2 separate regions of the Homo sapiens genome follow, and region 2 is linked to region 1. Evidence: promoter capture Hi-C in 16 types of primary human blood cells and fetal thymus (Javierre and others, 2016). All regions are on one chromosome and are shown on one strand. Each heading gives the region's core, a stretch centred on a gene start or on the middle of the fragment in contact. The rest is flanking DNA. Distances are from core to core; before and after follow the strand shown.

The links. The method cuts DNA at HindIII sites, captures the fragments that hold promoters and counts their contacts. A CHiCAGO score of 5 or more calls a contact.
Region 2: a contact is called between a fragment that was not itself captured here and the fragment with the promoter of ACTBL2 in region 1, in 1 of 17 cell types (M2 macrophages). The highest score is 6.9, in M2 macrophages.

Annotation. Positions count from the first base shown.
Region 1 is chr5:57,480,656-57,484,566 of GRCh38, forward strand. ACTBL2 (actin beta like 2) reads right to left here and starts at 2,156. Exons shown (of 1, transcript NM_001017992.4): 1 at 1-2,156. The coding sequence starts at 2,052. The coding sequence ends at 922. The region is part of intron 1 of RMEL3 (enriched in melanoma 3); the gene reads left to right. The HindIII fragment of the contact is 2,872 bases long and covers 591-3,462 here.
Region 2 is chr5:58,858,668-58,862,578 of GRCh38, forward strand. It overlaps RAB3C (RAB3C, member RAS oncogene family), which reads left to right. Exons shown (of 5, transcript NM_138453.4): 5 at 1-727. Among named protein-coding and RNA genes, the nearest start is that of PDE4D-AS1, 180 kb to the right of the region's middle. The HindIII fragment of the contact is 1,390 bases long and covers 1,000-2,389 here.

The DNA of each region.
Region 1 (3,911 bases), core at 906-3,405:
AGAAGTATCTGTAATCCTGGTCTACAGAAATTATTTAAGATGTGCTATTACACTAAGAAATAGAAATAAAATTACCTCTGTCAAATTGTACCATAATGACATTAATTTGATATTATAATATCTATCTCTCTTAAGAATTAGACATTGTCTGTAGTTTTGGTATGAGAAGGTTCAGTAAGAAAGATATTAAAATATAATTTGACCAGCAGAACTCCACTATGAGCTGAAAATTTAGATGATTTATAAACATTAATGGAATGGTGGCTGTCTCATTATGCTTATTTAGTAAGGGAAACAATTAAAATATGTACCTAGTACAACGATGACTTTTGGGAGTAAAGAAATTCACATTAGCTGTTCAGATAGCTAGATACATCAGCATATTTCACAATATATTTTATTTCCCTGGTGCTTATGTATATATGGATATTATTGAACTTTATAATTCATTATCTCCATACAAAGAAGTAAACAAAACAAAGATACTTAACTAGTAAGACACGGCTGCTAAATGCATACGCACCTTTTTTTTTTAAACAAGTTTATACAGCCTGTTCTTGTTAAATATTTTAGCGAGAACTAAGTTTTAAAGCTTGATAATTATAGTTATCCATTCTGAAATGACATTTCTCGTGATTTTACTCCTTGTCACTTATATGTATTTAAGCTGGCCTACCTATCTTTGAACAGTATAGGCAAAGAAAAAGGAATATGGTATTAGAATTCACCTTCACTTGATGGAGAACCGGATGTGGTTATCTGGGTAAGAGCCCAGGTTACTTGGATGGAGAGATGGGTTTGCTGGTTTACACTAGGAAGAGTGACGTATTTACCTCGATTCTACTGAAAGCGGATAAAAGCAGTACCATCACTGTGACCTAGGAAAAGGGAAAATGTAAGCCCACTAATATGGAAGCCCATTCAGAAACATTTTCTGTGAACGATAGGAGGACCAGCCTCATCATATTCCTGCTTACTGATCCACATCTGCTGGAATGTGGACAGGCTGGCAAGGATGGAGCCCCCAATCCAAACAGAATACTTCCGCTCTGGGGGAGCTATGATCTTGATTTTCATGGTGCTGGGTGCCAGGGTTATGATTTCTTTCTGCATCCTGTCAGCAATGCCTGGGTACATGGTGCTCCCTCCAGATAACACGGTGTTGGCATAGAGATCCTTGCGAATATCCACATCGCACTTCATGATAGAGTTGAAGGTTGTCTCATGGATCCCACTGGACTCAATGCCCAGAAAGGAAGGCTGGAAAATGGCTTCAGGGCATCGGAAGCGTTCATTCCCAATGGTGATCACCTGCCCATCAGGAAGTTCATAGCTCCGTTCCGGTGAGGAGGATGCGGCTGCCCTGACCATCTCCTGCTCAAAGTCCAGGGCTACGTAGCACAGCTTCTCTTTGACATCTCGCACAATCTCCCGCTCAGCAGTGGTGGTGAAGTTATAGCCTCGCTCTGTCAGGATCTTCATGAGGTAATCAGTCAGGTCTCTCCCTGCCAGATCCAGGCGTAGAATGGCATGAGGCAGGGCATAACCTTCATAGATGGGCACGATGTGAGTGACCCCATCCCCAGAATCCATCACGATGCCTGTGGTCCGTCCTGAGGCATAGAGGGACAGCACAGCCTGGATGGCGACATACATGGCTGGTGTGTTGAAAGCCTCGAACATGATCTGAGTCATCTTTTCCCGGTTGATCTTGGGGTTCAGGGGTGCCTCGGTGAGGAGGATGGGATGCTCATCTGGTGCCACACGGAGCTCATTGTAGAATGTGTGGTACCAGATCTTTTCCATATCGTCCCAGTTGGTGACCACTCCATGCTCGATAGGATACTTCAGGGTCAGGACGCCTCTCTTGCTCTGAGCCTCATCTCCCACGTAGCAGTCCTTCTGGCCCATGCCTACCATAACGCCCTGGTGTCGAGGACGCCCTATCATGGAGGGGAACACAGCCCGGGGGGCATCGTCACCACCAAAGCCTGCCTTGCACATCCCTGACCCATTATCCACTACCAAGGCAGACAGCTCATTGTCAGTCATGGTGCTGGCTGAGATCTTCCAGACGAGTGAACAGGACAAGTGAATAGACAGTGAGTAAGAGAAAGTGAACAGGCCTAAAACACTCCAGAAATGCTTTCAGACACGGGAGGCTGCACCGGGACCACAGGTATTTAAAGGAACACACTGACTCCGCCCATGTCCTACTCCACCAGTTCCCAGCATTTCTGGATGAGGTCATCTCTGAGGTATTAATGATGGTGATGATTACATAAACAATTAGATCTTTCTACATAAAGAGAAAATTGGCTGCCAAGTGGTCAAATCTCAGGTTCCTGTAATTAGGCAACCCACACATGACCGTCAGCCTGCCTGGTGAGGTCTCTAGATAACTATGATGATGCAGTGGGGGATATAAAAGCAAGATGAAAGAAAGCTGGTGCTAGGTATGGCAACACTGCTGGGAGGAAGGCTCCCTCCTTAGCGTCCCTGAGGATTCACTTTTCCTACACTAGCTTACCTTTTCATTCTTAAGATACTGTTCTGATGAGGGGTCTTACCCTGCAATCTTCACTTTTTCAAGATTTTTGTTTCCATTAGATTCCTAATCCCACAGGGTGTCATCATCGTAGAGACTGTTTTAGTAAATGAAAATAATAAATGGCTAAGGATGGCCTGATGGCTGTAATTACAATGCACTTGTGTCAAGCAAAATGTAGAGATATTTAATAGACTTCTAATCCATCAGAGATCAAGCGAAAGGAATAGAATGATTGCTAAAGTTAACCCATATAGATACTTTTTTCTGATATAAATTTCTAACAACCAAATTTCATTAAACATTTACTGTGTCTAGACATTGTTCATAGAACCAGGTTCATTGGGTCCATGTTAATTGTATAATGACTGAATGTCAACTATTTTGCATGATTTATTAAGATGCAGGTTATAAAAATTTATTTATTTGCAACAACTCTTGAGTTCTGCAACAATGGACAAAATGAAGTGATAAGACAAATTTGAAAAATTATATATTTAAACTAATCCTTAAAACATTTTGATCTTCAAGATACATATACTATATTATAACATTAAACCTCTATGTAGTTATTAAAATCTATACAATTAGAATTATACTAGCTTTCCTTCCATTTCAAGATATATTACACCCTGATCACTTCATAGCAACAATTTGTTTGGGTTCCATGTTTCATATAGAAATACAGACTACCTGAAAAGATGTGTATGATGGTAAAATGTAGGACATCAGCAATGTGTTACAGAGAAATAGCATTTAAGAAAGCTCATTACTTCTGCTCCCCTATGTGTTAGGCGAATAGAATATAATTATCTTTGTGAGCTCTTGTAAAGCAAAGAAATTTTCCATGTCTACATCTGAGTTCTCCAAAATAATCTTTATTTGGGTTCATCATTCATTCATTTACCCAATAAAGCTTGCTTTGTAAGAGGTAGCACAGCCCCTATTTACTGGACAAAAAACACCCTCCAGCTCAAGGCCAGGAGAACTAACCTGAGTCTTTGCCCAGTGAGCCTCTTGGAGAGTCATGGTGTAGCATCAAGCTGTGAGCATCCAGCCCTCTTCTTTGTCTATAGCTTGATATAGATTTATTTTATCCAGTGCTGTAATATGCCTTCAAAACCTTTCTGGTGACAATCAGTCATGGCAGAATGTATGTTTCATCACAAGATCCATGGTTTTGCTTTAGGGCTCACCAAAACAGTCCTTTCCTTTAATCTTTTCTGTAACTGCAAAATTCCTTCTTCAACAGTGTTAAAAACCTTCACACTGAATGGTTTTATGAACTTCCTTGTTATGTAGTACAACCAAGCTTTTGATTAAAACAACATTTTATTGCTATAGGATGGTGCTTCTGGGAATT
Region 2 (3,911 bases), core at 445-2,944, 1.4 Mb after region 1:
TCCTTTGAATGGAAGAGAGACAAAGCTATCAGCTATAGATCATTGTTTTCTTAAGACAGCCAAACTGGCCCTTTGAAACCATTCAAATTACCCCAGTTTAGCTCCCTACCTTTTAGTCTCCGTGAGGAAGACAAGCTGTTGCATTATCATATTCCTCTGTGCTGAGCAGCTCAAGACTCAGCCACAATATGCAAATTGCTTTAATGCCATATTACGGCAGTTGATTTAGACATTTGCCAGTGCACCAAACCATGAGAGATTGTCCGACCTAATGCCACCTGGCAGATGTGTACCCAGAGATTTTTCTGTAGCTCCATGTTTCCCATAAAGGGCATTGGAAATGCACAGATGAAGATCTTCCTTTGGAACCAGGCACATTTGGCCCCTTCTCAGTGACTGCACTGTGGAACTCTTCTTAAGAAAATATTGAAAACAGCTTAATGCTTTCATATAGTGACCGACATTTAGTTGAAAACTACTGCTGCATAGCAAATATTGTGACTCTTCATGTGTCCACAGGAGCTCTTGTGTGGGTTTAAAGCTATGAAGTGTATTCACATTGTGAAGTTTTAATTATCTTTATTGAAATTAATTGTGTAAAAATGGTATGTGCTCTATTAGGTATTCAGTTTGTATGTGAATTCTATAAAGAAAGTGGTTTTTGTTCTTTGAGTTTGTTTTATTTCTTGAAGATTACAATAAATATCTAAGAGACTATATTCCTGAATTTCTTAGCCTTAGTCTGATTAATGTTTTTCATCTCCTTTCAATTCATATTATTTTTCATCCTAGGATGCTTATTTCCATTTCTTCTCCCACTTCTATAATCTTAGGTACAACACTGAGTTTGAACTGAAGATGAAGAGTGAACACATTTAGGGCTTTGAGTATCTCACACATGAATTTGGACTTAGGCACAGGAATGAATTCTAATACTTGTAATCTTTCAAGGTCGATAACTTTCTAACTGACCCAACTGACTGGGTTCCAGAGTTACAAAGCTTAGCTGTAGGATCAAGAATAGCTGCTAAGGGAGATAAAGGTCTTCAGGTCTGCAACTTGAAGACCATGTGTCCCTAAATGAAAAGTCTAAGGTTTGATGATCACTTAGCACCCTACTGGCATAGCCCGAGGCAAGGGCGGTCAACAGAGAAAACATGTGGATGGGATGTGTGAATGGAATGGGTGTCATTTAATGCACAGTGCTTGGTGCAGTGATGATTAGGATGCCGTGCAGGATCTCCTTGGCCATGGGCCTCAAGGCATGGGGAAGCACCCAGCTACCAATCTATTTGTATCACAGCAGACCTACTACTAATTTTGCAATCTTGTAGCATTCTACTTGTACTAACAGCACTGATTCTATGGAATTTCTTCCAAATGTTCCTCAGGGCAATTTCCAGGAAGGAGTCTGCACTGAAAATCAGTCAAGGGGGAAGGTCCCTGGAAGAGCCACATGAGTCCCATGGGTCAAATTAGCTTCCTGAACTGAACTTGGTAATAGAAGGGTAACCTCCCTGGGTAGACAAAGCAAGTAGCACTTAAGAAACCAAAAAAAAAAAAAAAGAAAACAATGATAATAAATTAAGGGATTTCCAGTTATATTATCAACAAATACTTACAAAATGCCTTCTAATGCTAATTTATCAGTATTTATCAGTATTTATCAGTATTTCAGTAATTTATCAGTATTTATCAGTATACATGAAAATACATACTATAGAGTCCTGACCCTCCATGAACTTAAACCATTGTGATAGAGGAAAATGTGTAAGTTAATATCAATAAAAAACTCATCATTGATAAACTAAATATTCCTTAATATATATGTCTAATAAATACTTAAAATGAACATTGGAAATTTGTTTCATTTCAAAAGAGCTCACAAAAATTTCCTCTTTGAAATGTTGTAAAATGCATTTTTTGGACTGTAGTCCTTTGCCCCCAGATAAATATATAACAATCAATAAAAGTCAGTTCAAAACTTAAAAAAAAAAATTAAGAGCCCAGAAAGACTTCACATGTTTCCTGATTATTCTGAGGCTCTTGTGGCAGAACCAGATCCAACTGGTTTTAGCAGGAATCTGCCTGTACCCTATTCCCTCAAGTAATATGCCCTTAGCTTTTTTAAAATTAATTTTAAAACATGAAGTTACTATGTGGCCACTTACTCAATAGCATTGAGACAGTAGGCATGAAACAGAAAACATCTGTCACCCTCAGAAAATGCTAAGTCATTCTCTCCTCAACTTCCTAACAGACTTGAAAAGGACACCTTCTATATAAAAGGCCACAAAGTCTTTGCACAGTTCTCAGGGACACTCCACCTCTTGGTTCTTGGTTCTCCTCTTTCTCCTCTAACTTCTCAACCCCTCACCCAGTCCAAAGAAGCTTTAGTCTGATAGAGACTGCCTGCTCATCTTTTCTTCCTAATCTATTGTTAATGACCTGAGTCCTTTTGAGCTAGAATTTCTCATTGTTTATTAATTCTAAATCTCAGGAAATTTTATCTAAAAATTATGTTCTCTTTTTTAAGTATTGCCTCTCCCTTAAAGCAATTCTGCTAAGTGGAAGAAAGGCAAAGGGTATAGAAAATATATGGAAAGTGAGTGTTGGATGAAAATCTGGATTAATATTTCAAAACAATATTCTACCAAGCAGACAATTACAATATAATTTGATTAGTGTCAATATAGAGGTTAAACACAAGCTACTGTGAAAGCACAGAGAGAAGCAATTATTAATCCAGATTGAAAGCAAGGGCTGGGATGTTCTGAGAAGGCCTACTAGAGGAAACAAGGACTGAGCTAAAACATACAGGAGATGTAGGAATTATGCAGAGGCAGATGTGAGAGAAGACTGCTCCAAGCATGGGGAGCAAACCACGGAAGTTTAGCAAAGCATGGTGTATTTATGGAATTTCAAAGCCATTCACATAGGGTGATCACAGGATGAAACAAAAGGAGAAAGAGCGAGGGCTGAGATCATAACATTTATCAGAAATGCTTTAAATGTCTAGATTTCATTCTCTAGCTGTGGGGAATTCATGAACAGATTTAAGCCAGGTAGAAGTTTGAACAGATTTGAATTTTAGAAGATCACAAAATTGGCAATATGAGAAATGAATTAAAGGGAGGCAATAACAGAAACAGAAAGAGTATTAGACAGCTATTATAGTAACCTAGAAGTTTTATCTCTAAATTAATTGCAGAATGATAGAAATGAAGAGTAGGGAATACATGAAAGTTCACTTTAGAAGGTAAGAAATGGTGACCAGTAAGATTCGGGAAGAGGAAGAGGAAGAAACCAAAGAAGACCCTCAGGCTTCTGGCTTGGTTGATTTTGCCATTAACTAAGAGAGAAAGTACAACAGTAGCAGTAGGTTTAAAGAAAAGAGAATGAGTTCCATATCCACAGTGTTGTGATTGATATTTCTAGAGGATGTGCAAAGGATGCAACCCAGTGAACATCTGGAAGGTGCAGATCTAGAGTTCAGAAGAGAGTTCTGGAAAGTTCTAGTATGTAGATGATAACTAAGACTTGGGGAGTAGAGAAAATGACGTGCAAGAGAATGTCTCAAATGATAGAAGAGCAGAATGAGAACTAGGGCACACGATATTTATGGGCAGCCAAGGAAAACAAGTTCACAAAGAGACTTGAAAGAGGAGTGGTCAAAGGGATGGATGGAGAATCAAGTGAGAACGGGACACAAGAAGCCAAGAGAGGAGCCAGTTTTAAGAAAGAAGGAGTGATCCATATTTTTGGATGATGTAAAGTGGAATCACAATTGCCAGTCATACAAATTAGGGACACAGACACAGGACACTACTTGTGGGTGGTGGGTGAAAAGAAGATGAGGATTGGAAAATTACCTATTGGGTACTATTCTTGTTACTGAGTGACAAAACCAT